Regions from separate parts of the Homo sapiens genome. Here region 2 is linked to region 1. The links are contacts of gene promoters, found by promoter capture Hi-C in human tissues and cell types (Jung and others, 2019). All regions are on one chromosome and are shown on one strand. Each heading gives the region's core, a stretch centred on a gene start or on the middle of the fragment in contact. The rest is flanking DNA. Distances are from core to core; before and after follow the strand shown. Region 1 holds the start of CELSR3 (cadherin EGF LAG seven-pass G-type receptor 3). Region 2 overlaps PRKAR2A (protein kinase cAMP-dependent type II regulatory subunit alpha).

Evidence for each region. Contacts are between HindIII fragments. The study calls those that stand out against the background at their distance.
Region 2: a contact is called between a fragment that was not itself captured here and the fragment with the promoter of CELSR3 in region 1, in 1 of the 25 tissues and cell types used here (spleen).

What each region holds. Positions count from the first base shown.
Region 1 is chr3:48,660,514-48,665,060 of GRCh38, forward strand. It overlaps CELSR3 (cadherin EGF LAG seven-pass G-type receptor 3), which reads right to left and starts at 2,373. Exons shown (of 35, transcript NM_001407.3): 1 at 1-2,373. The coding sequence starts at 2,121. LINC02585 (long intergenic non-protein coding RNA 2585) reads left to right here and starts at 3,255. Exons shown (of 3, transcript NR_111921.1): 1 at 3,255-3,300. RefSeq lists enhancers at 96-682, 683-1,267, 2,379-2,568, 2,439-3,024, 3,339-3,698 and 2 more. The HindIII fragment of the contact is 20,539 bases long and covers 1-4,547 here.
Region 2 is chr3:48,817,885-48,822,431 of GRCh38, forward strand. The region is part of intron 1 of PRKAR2A (protein kinase cAMP-dependent type II regulatory subunit alpha); the gene reads right to left. Among named protein-coding and RNA genes, the nearest start is that of PRKAR2A, 28 kb to the right of the region's middle. The HindIII fragment of the contact is 9,279 bases long and covers 1-4,547 here.

The DNA of each region.
Region 1 (4,547 bases), core at 1,123-3,622:
CCAGCCAGTGGCGCTGTTTATCACAAAAGGAGTATCAGGTGCCACACCAGTTAGGGAGTACTCCAATCTGGCATTCTCCCCATGGTCTGCATCGACTGCCTGAATGTGGATGACTGAGTGACCCAAGGGAGCATTTTCCAAGACAGAAACTTGGAAGGGCGTGCTGACAAAAATAGGAATGTGGTCATTGATGTCCACCACCTGGATGCTGGCCAGGCCCGTGTTGTTGGACAGCGGTGGCCGGCCAGCATCCTGCGCCCTGATGCGCAAGGCATACTCTCTCTCTGCCTCGAAGTCCAGAGGTGCCACCACCTGGATCTCGCCAGTGAGGCTGTCGATGGCAAAGTGTCCACGGCTATTGCCACTGATGATGTTGTAGTGCACCAATCCGTTGGCGTCCTTGTCCCGGTCAGTGGCCGTGACGCGCAGCACGACTGTGTGGGGGCGCACATCCTCGCGCACCTGCGCCACGTAGCGCTTCTCGCTGAACTGAGGAGCATTGTCGTTCTCGTCTAGCACAGTTATGTGTACGCGCACAGTGGCCGAGCGCGGCCCGGGTTCCTGGCCCTGGTCGCTGGCTTCCACCACCAGCTCATAGCTTTCCATGTGCTCGCGGTCCACTCGGCCGCTGGTGCTGATGAGGCCGGAGCGTGGATCAATCTCGAAGGCGGCGGCAGCTGCAGCGCGCGCAGCTGGCGGCCCCACGAAGCGGTAGCGCAGGTTGGCGTTGGGGGGCGCGTCGCCGTCAGTGGCACGCAGCTGCAGGATAGGGTAGCCCTCCTCCACATTCTCGCGAAGGGTCTCCCGGTACTGCGCTTGCTCAAAAACCGGCGAGTGGTCGTTGCGGTCGGCTACTGTCACGGCCACCATCGTGGTGGCCGAGAGGCGCGGCGACCCGTGGTCCTGCGCGGTCACACGCAGGTAGTGACGCTCCATGCTCTCGCGGTCCAGAGCTGCCGCCGTACGGATAAGGCCGCTCTGCGGGTCGATGCTGAACAGCTCCAGCGAGCGGCTGTTCATGAGTGCCGCCAGCGAGTAGACTAGGCGCCCGGCCTCGCCGGCGTCCGGGTCCTGAGCAACCACGCGTAGCACCGCGGTGCCTGCTGCCTCATTCTCCGGCACCAGCGTCTGGTAGTTGTACTGCGGAAACTGCGGGTGGCGGTTTGCGGCGCGACGAAAGCGTGCCCGGTTCGCCGAGGTTACTTTCCTGGCTTCAGGACGGGCCGGGAGTCCCGGGGGACGCGGCCCGGGGCGCTGCGGGAGGAAGCGGCAGCGGAAGAGACCCCGGGAGCGCATGCGCTTGGGCGCCGGCTCGGGAGCTGTCCGAGACTCGCGGGGTGCTGAACCTGATGCAGGAGCTGTCCTCGCCGTGCGTGGTGCTGAATCCAGCTCGGGGCCAGATCCCGAGGCCCCTGGAAGACAGTTCCGCCGGGGGGCTGTCCTTTCTGCTCCGGATGTCGTGGCTCTCTCGCCCTGACCCTTGCTCCCTGTTGCCCATAATTCCCCACAGCAGCGCGCGGTGCCCACTCTTTTGCGGGAGCCTGTCCCAGCGTTCCGCTGGGAGGACACCGGCTTGGGACCGTGGTGCCGAATCAAAAAGTCTGAAGGGAGGGGCGAGCTGTTCCCCGAGCCCGGGACCCCTGAGGACAGAGCCCCTGGTGACAGACTACCTCTTTGCAAAGGTCCTGTCCGCCCGCAAGAGGAGACCTCTGGGCGCCAGTATAACACAGACCCTGGTCCCTGTCCTGTCTCTCGTTCGCGGCTGCCCAATGGCTGGACGCCGTGTTCAATCCCCAGCTCCTCATTCGGCTGCTCAGGGGGCCCTCGACTATTCCGGGCGCTTTGCCTTCTCCCTCGGAGCCCCACGAAGATAGGCTCCCTGACCCCCAGGCCAGGCCCCCCATCCTCCCGGACCCCGGAAGACTCCGGACAAAGAGCTAAGGCTCCGCCACCGATATGCGCCCTTGGCCCCGTAGTGGCAGCTAAGCCTGGGTCCCAGCCCTGGTGCCCACCGCCCCCCAGCTCCTCCTGGCTGAGGGGGAACAAAGAGAGGAGAAGGAGCAGGAGTATGGGGGTCGACCGTCCCCCGAGGCCCCGCCACGGCGGCCGCCTCGCCATCATCCCCCGCCTCCCTGCACGGCCTCCACCGCCCCCCGCCCCGGTCCGGGCCTTGGGCTGGCCCCGCCGCTCGGGCCCCCTCCCGGGCCCCTGCCGCCGCCCCGGGCCCCCGCCCCTCCGCCTGTCTCTCCGCACCCCCGCCGCCCTCTGGGCACCATCTACTCCGCGGCCGGAGCCCCTCCGGCGTGCGGCCCTGGCTTTTTCCGCCCCCACCACAGCATCCCCGACGCTGCTGCCGCCTCCCGCCGCTCCAACATGGCTCCCGGCCGCCCCGATGGTTCGCTCCACCTCTGCCCCGGCGCCCGAAACACGGTGGTACAACCCATCGCGCATGGCAGCTCTGAGGACCGAAGATGTTGCCGCCATCTTTATTGAGGACGTGAGCGTTGCTCCTGGTGCTGAACAGAGCGCGAAGGTTCGCCGTCGTTGGGTCCGCCCTCCCCACTTTCGGTCGCCGCCTTCACCCACCTCCCTCCTTCTAGGGCGCTGTCCCAGCTCCGTCTCCCAGCCTTTTTCTGTCCTTCCAGATCTCTTGTTCCCCCTTCCTGACCACTAGTTCTGAACCGTGTCCCGGATTTTGGTCTGAAATTTTGGTGCCCATGAGCGTTCTCATAGCTCTGGGAGGGGGTACTGTGTGAAATCCTGGGGTAGAGGGGACGATGGCTGGAGAGGGGTCTGGGGTGCCAGCACCCCGAACAATAGCTTTAACTATCCCATCAGCTAGTTTTATGAAACATGTCGCGACCACCTGCTTGTTTGGATCGCCCCTGCGGAGCAGGGACCAGAGATGACCCTCCCGAGGCGGGAGCAGAGGCCAAATTCTTCCCTGCCTTGCTGGTCCCCAGCAGTCTCCCGGGCTCGGGGCCCCTTCACTGGAGGCTGCACCCCCTCCCAGGCTGCGAGTCCCGAGTGCTCTGGGATGCCACGTGGAGCCCGGCGTTGCCCCATGGCTGCGGGCCCCGCTTCTTCGGGTCCCCGCCCCTCGTCCGTCACGACCGCATGCCTTAACCCCTTGAAGGGACTGACACAGAAACTCAGTCCTCCCCCCACCCTCGGTGCATTCCAGCTCTCCCTGCGTAACTCCTGGCACGCGCCGGTCTCGCCAGGCCAATGGGTGGACCTGGCGCAACAGACGTCACGAGAGGAGCGGAGGCGAGGGGTGAACGCGGAGCACTCCAATCGGTCAGTCATTGTTTCTATTGGCACAATGGGAGGCCCCGCCCCTCACGGCGGACTCATCGCATGGGGGAGGGGGCTCCGCGGGTTGCCGGCTAACCGTGAGAGAGTCCGGGAGGTACACTATACGGACCGGCCTCCAAAGGCGGAATCGATAACGAGCTGCAGCGCCGGGTGCAGAGGACGCGGGCATCCCGAAGCCCAGGAAGAGGTCAGGGCCGGGACCCCAGAACGCTCCACAGGGTGCGGCTCCCGCGATGGGGTGGATCCTGGTTCTAACAGGCGAGGAACTCCTGGCCAAGGCCTCTGGCCCGCCCCGAACGGTCCCTATGACATCACCATCAACCAATCAGTCGGCGCATCCTTTCGCCCCTTGACTGCTCCGCTTCCGGGAGGCGGGGCTTCTGCGGGTTCCACCTCCCGAGCGCCCCTTGTGGCTACCAAGGTCAGGCAACAGGTGTCCAGTTGTTCCCTCTCCTGTCTACGAATCTGAGGACCTCCCCAGGATCAGAGCTCTGGGCCTGATACACGGCCGGGGTTCCTACGGGTTTGTGAGTGGGGGTGGAAGATCTGCAGAGGCACTTAGGGCTGAACTCCTTTGAATGGGAGCCAATCGGTGCAGGGGCTGGAGGAGCGAGTCCCCCAAAGTAGTTTTATTTATCTATTTAGAGACAAGGTCTCACTCTTTCGGAGTGCAGTGGTGATCACAGCTCACCGTAGCCTCGAACTCCCCAGGCGATTCTCTCACCTCAGCCTCCCGAGTAGCTGGGACTACGGGTACATGTCATCACACTTGGCTAATTTTTGCATTTTTTATAGAGACAGGGTCTCACCATGTAGGCCAGATTAGTCTTGAACTCCTGGGCTCAAGCAATCCGCCCATCTTGGCCTCCCAAAGTGCTGGGATTATAGGTGTGAGCCACCGCGCCCGGCAACCCAGAAGTGGTTTTGACAGCACCAGCGCTTTCTGTGTCCACAATCTAGTGAGTAGAGGGCACAAAACCTGACACCACGGAGGCAGACAGGCAGGGGCTCTGCCGGGGAAGGGTGTTGGAGTCCCAAAGGAGGCGTCTGAGTCACCTTCGCAACCTGGGACGCCTTCTTGCATAAGATGCCTGAGCAGTGCCTTGAATGACCAAGGGGAGATCCGCATCTGCAAAGGAAGGGCAGGGAGGGATAGGGATTGGGGGTGGGCATCCTAGGTCTTGGAGACTGTGTGGGCAAATGTGCAGAGACATAAAGGGACTATGGCT
Region 2 (4,547 bases), core at 1,348-3,847, 160 kb after region 1:
TTTTAAGATTTTTGTTTCTTTTGAAAGCATTAGCATGTAGAGTTGCTATGCCACTGAGAAAGTGGAAGATTCTTATTCCTCCAAACACATAAATCTTGCAATCTACAAGAGGGGAGAAATCCAGCAGAGGAGAGAAATTGTTTTCCATTCCCAAATGTGCTAATTAATTATACATAAATATTAACACTCTCTACAGCCAAAAGGTACCATCTAACAAACTCTACTATCTCAGCTGCCCTCTGCTCTGATGCAAAGTTGTAAAGAGGCAGATCAGATTTCTCTATCATTTACATGCCAGCCAGGCAGGTAGGCACTTCCAACCATACCCAAGGCATCCTGTTAAAAGCAAAAATCAGCCTATTAAGAAACCAAAAGCCGAAGAGCTGCCCTGCCGAATTATTTGTACAAGAATTATCTGCTATATTTTCAAATAATCAAAACTATACCACTAATCTTTAGTCTGTCATTTTACAATATAAGCCATTCATTTTTAATATCTGACAACACTCTGGAGAACAAAGCAAGGGTAACAGTAATAAGATTTCACCACAAAAGACAGGTTTGCATTCTAGCTTCAGAACTTAAACCTGGCCAGGTGCAGTGGCTCACACCCATAATCTTTGGGAGGCCAAGGCAGGGAGGACTGCTTGAGCCCAGGAGTTCGAGACAAGTTTGGGCAACAGAGTGAGACCCTGTCTCTACAAAAAAAAAATGTTTTAATTAGCCAGGCACAGTGGTGTGCACCTACAGTGCCAGCTGCTTGGGAGGCTGAGGTGGGAGGATGGCTTGAGCCAGGGAGCTTGAGCTGTGATTACACCACTGCACTCCAACCTGGGTGACACAGCAAGACCCTGTCTCAAAAAAAAGAAAAGAGAACTTAAACTTCTCTGAGCCTCAGTATTCTCACAAATTCAATAAGGGTAGTACTACTTACCACAAATGACCCGAGGGCAGACTTAATGACCCTATGTATAGAAGTACTGAGACAGTAAAATGTTAGGGATATCATAGTTTTGTGGAGGGTTTGTTTGCTGGTTTTTCAAAATTATCTATCTTTAAAATACTGCAGTTTCACATTTTTTTTCACAGCTGCTATTCTGCCACGTATACCCTGTTCAAACACTTTTTTTTTTTTGAGACAGAGTTTCGCTCTTGTTGCCCAGGCTGGAGTGCAGTGGTGCAATCTCTGCTCACTGCAACCTCCCACTGCAACCTCCGCCTCCTGGGCTCAAGCGATTCTCCTGCCTTAGCCTCCCAAATAGCTGGGATTACAGGCGCCAACCACCACACCTGGCTAATTTTTGTATTTTTAGTAGAGACAGGATTTCACCATGTTGGCCAGGCTGGTTTCGAACTCCTGACTTCAGGTGATCCGCCAGCCTTGACCTCCCAAAGTGCTGGGATTACAGGCATGAGCCACAACGCCCACCCTCAAACATTTTTTGTTAGTTACAATTTTTGAGTCCCACTACGTGCAAGTATTATGCCAACCATTTTAAATGCATCATCACATATACCCTTCACAACAACCCTATTACCATCCCATTTTGTAGCTGAGGAGACTGAGACTCAGAGAATTGTACCCAAGGTCACACAGCTAGGAAGTGGTCAAGCCAGAATCTGAGTCATCTAAATTTGACAACTGAGGAAAAGTAAAAGTGTGAATCAATAAAATACTTGTTTTACATTTTTTGAAATAAATTCCACCATTCCATTATTTAATTATGGATCCTTAGCAATATAATGTTTATTAGAATCCCCCCAGCTTTTTCCTGTGGAAGGATCATGTTGCCTGTTTGCTTACTGCTGCCCCTACCAGACAGATGATAAGCTCCTATAGTCAAGTGCACTTTTATCCTCCCCTGTCCCAGTGCTGACCAGAGTGGACATCTGCTGAAATAACACAGGAAGGCAGTGGGGAGGCTGAAGGCCACAACAGTGTTCAGCCATACCACTGTGTCAACCCACCTCCTGTGACACTACTCCAAACCCCTACCTTCTCCTAGTTAGGTAACCAGAGTTATCCTTTAGGAGTGGCCTCTCACAGATGTGAAGTCCTTGTGGGACTTCACTCCCAACTCTGCCTACTACTTCCAATTTGGTCATAGGATAGGGTGCATGATCCAAGCCAGGCAAATCAGTGTTCTTAAGCATGGTAACTTGCTTGGAACAAGCATAGAACATTCATGGTAACTTATTCCAAAAACGGAATATGACCCAACCCAAGCCATTCCTTCTCTGGAATATTCTAAACTGGGGATACAGAATAGCTCGCTCTTTAGTTTGGATCAGGAACTGCTTTAGGCACTGTGGAGCCAATGGAGTAGATCTACCGCAAGGGAATAAGAGGGTCATACATGCATTTTGGAAAGATTATTCTAATAATAGTATCACCAATGGAATAAGACACGGAGTGGGAAGACCAGTAATGGGCCTACTGTAATATTCCTGACAAAAAAATGAAGAAAGCTTGAATGGTAACGGGAATGGAGAAAAGGGAACACATTAGGAAACATTTGGGGATTGCCTTTTGTCTCACTGGAAATACTGTCCTAAAACAGAGAACCTGACTCCTTAATTCTCTTGCACATAGATGACTACTGTGAACACTCGATTCATATGATAAGTACTTACCAAGTACCTAGAAACCAGTAAGAATGAAGTAGTTATAAGCATAGATTCTGAGCCAGGCTGCTTGGGTTCAAATCCAGTCACCTCACTTACTAGCAGTGTGACCTTGAATAAGTTACTTAACCTCTGTGCCTCACTTTCCTCATCTATAAAACCAGGATAATAATAGCACCTACCTCATAGGGTTGCTGCTGTGCAGAAAAGGAAACCCTTGAACTGGTTGATAAAAGACAAGTAGCAGTTCAGCAGAGAAACAAGAAGGGGAGGACAGCATTCCAGGCAGAAGGGAAGGCATATGCAAAGGAAAAGAAATGTGAAAAAGTGAGCTTGACTCATGACCATTGTGCTCTCCAGACCCACATTCCCAATGTTGGCTAAATGCCAGCTGGAACTCCAACTCCCTGAGTTGGACCTGAAATTCAATAGGTCCAGAATAGAACCAATAAACTTCACAGTTCCTGTTACTCCAGGCTCCCTATGTCAGGGGCAATGCCATGACCATCTCCAATCACACAGTTTTAATTACTCCCCCATTTACTCCTAAACACAGACTGTAACAGTAGGACAAGGGTGGAATGATTAGTCCAGCGTAAGCCATGCCTCACAGAAAGAGAAAGAACGTCTCCCTAAGTATAGGATCTGACTGTGGCAAGATCAGAGCAAGGAGTGGTGGGGATTGTGGGTCAAGTCAGAGATGACACAGAGCACTACTTACCCAGGGGCAGAAACTTCAACTCTAGGAACACCAGCTATCCAGACCTAAAAGGATCATTCTCTGCTGTAAAGACCAGCTTTGCTTCATGCTCCCAGAACTAGGGAAATACCTCCTCCTACCCATCCCCACTCCCTTCCAGCTATTGCTATTTTTCCTGTTACAATTCTGTATTTTCCAATCAAAACTCTTACTGATAATCCAATTTCCCAAGAATTTTTAAATATGCAAGTTCCCTGGTTTTTAGAGATATGAGTTCTTGAGAGATATGAGTTCTAGGATCAATAGAAATGATTAAACAACCAATTACAGTTATCACACCAGACACTAGATATTTAGCATACATTATCTTTAAGTTTTACCACACCCTTGAAAGACAGTCAAGAACTCCCTTTTGAATGGAAACAGGACCAGGCACAGTGGCTCACGCCTGTAATCCCAGCACTTTGGGAGGCCGAGGCGGGCGGATCGCGAGGTCAGGAGTTTGAGACCAGCCTGGCCAACATGGTGAAACCCTGTCTCTACTAAAAATACAAAAACTAGCCGGGCATGGTGGTGTGCACCTGTAGTCCCAGCTACTAGGGGACTGAGGCAGCAGAATCGCTTGAACCTGGGAGGTGAAGGTTGCAGTGAGCCGAGATTGCACTACTGCACTCCAGCCTGGGCGACAGAGCAACACTCCATGTCAGAAAAAAAAAAAAAAAAGAATGAAAACAGGGCCAGGCGCAGTGTCTCACGCCTGTAATCCCAGCACTTTGGGAGGCCAAGGCGGGCAGATCACTTGATGTCAGTTCGAGACCAGCCTGGCCAACATGGCGAAACCCCATCTCTAATATAGCTGGACATGGTGGCGCATGCCCGTAATCCCAGCTACTCAGGAGGCTGGGGCAGGAGAATCCCTTGAACCAGGGAGGCAGAGGTTGCAGTGAGCCAAGATTGCACCATTGCACTCCAGCCTGGGTGACGGGGCAAGATTCTGTCTCAAAAAAAAAAAAAAAAAAAAATGGAGTTTCCCAGCATCCAGCCTGGCACTGCCTCAGACCAGTTCTTCACACAGCTTGCATGGGGTATAAATATGGTGATGTTCCTTCCCTTTATAAAGCTGTTTAATGTGTCCCTGGCCTGTAGAAGCATCTCCCAAACTTCCATGGCCACAGAACCATTTCAAATTGATAGAACACCAGCTAGCACTCACAATATCTAC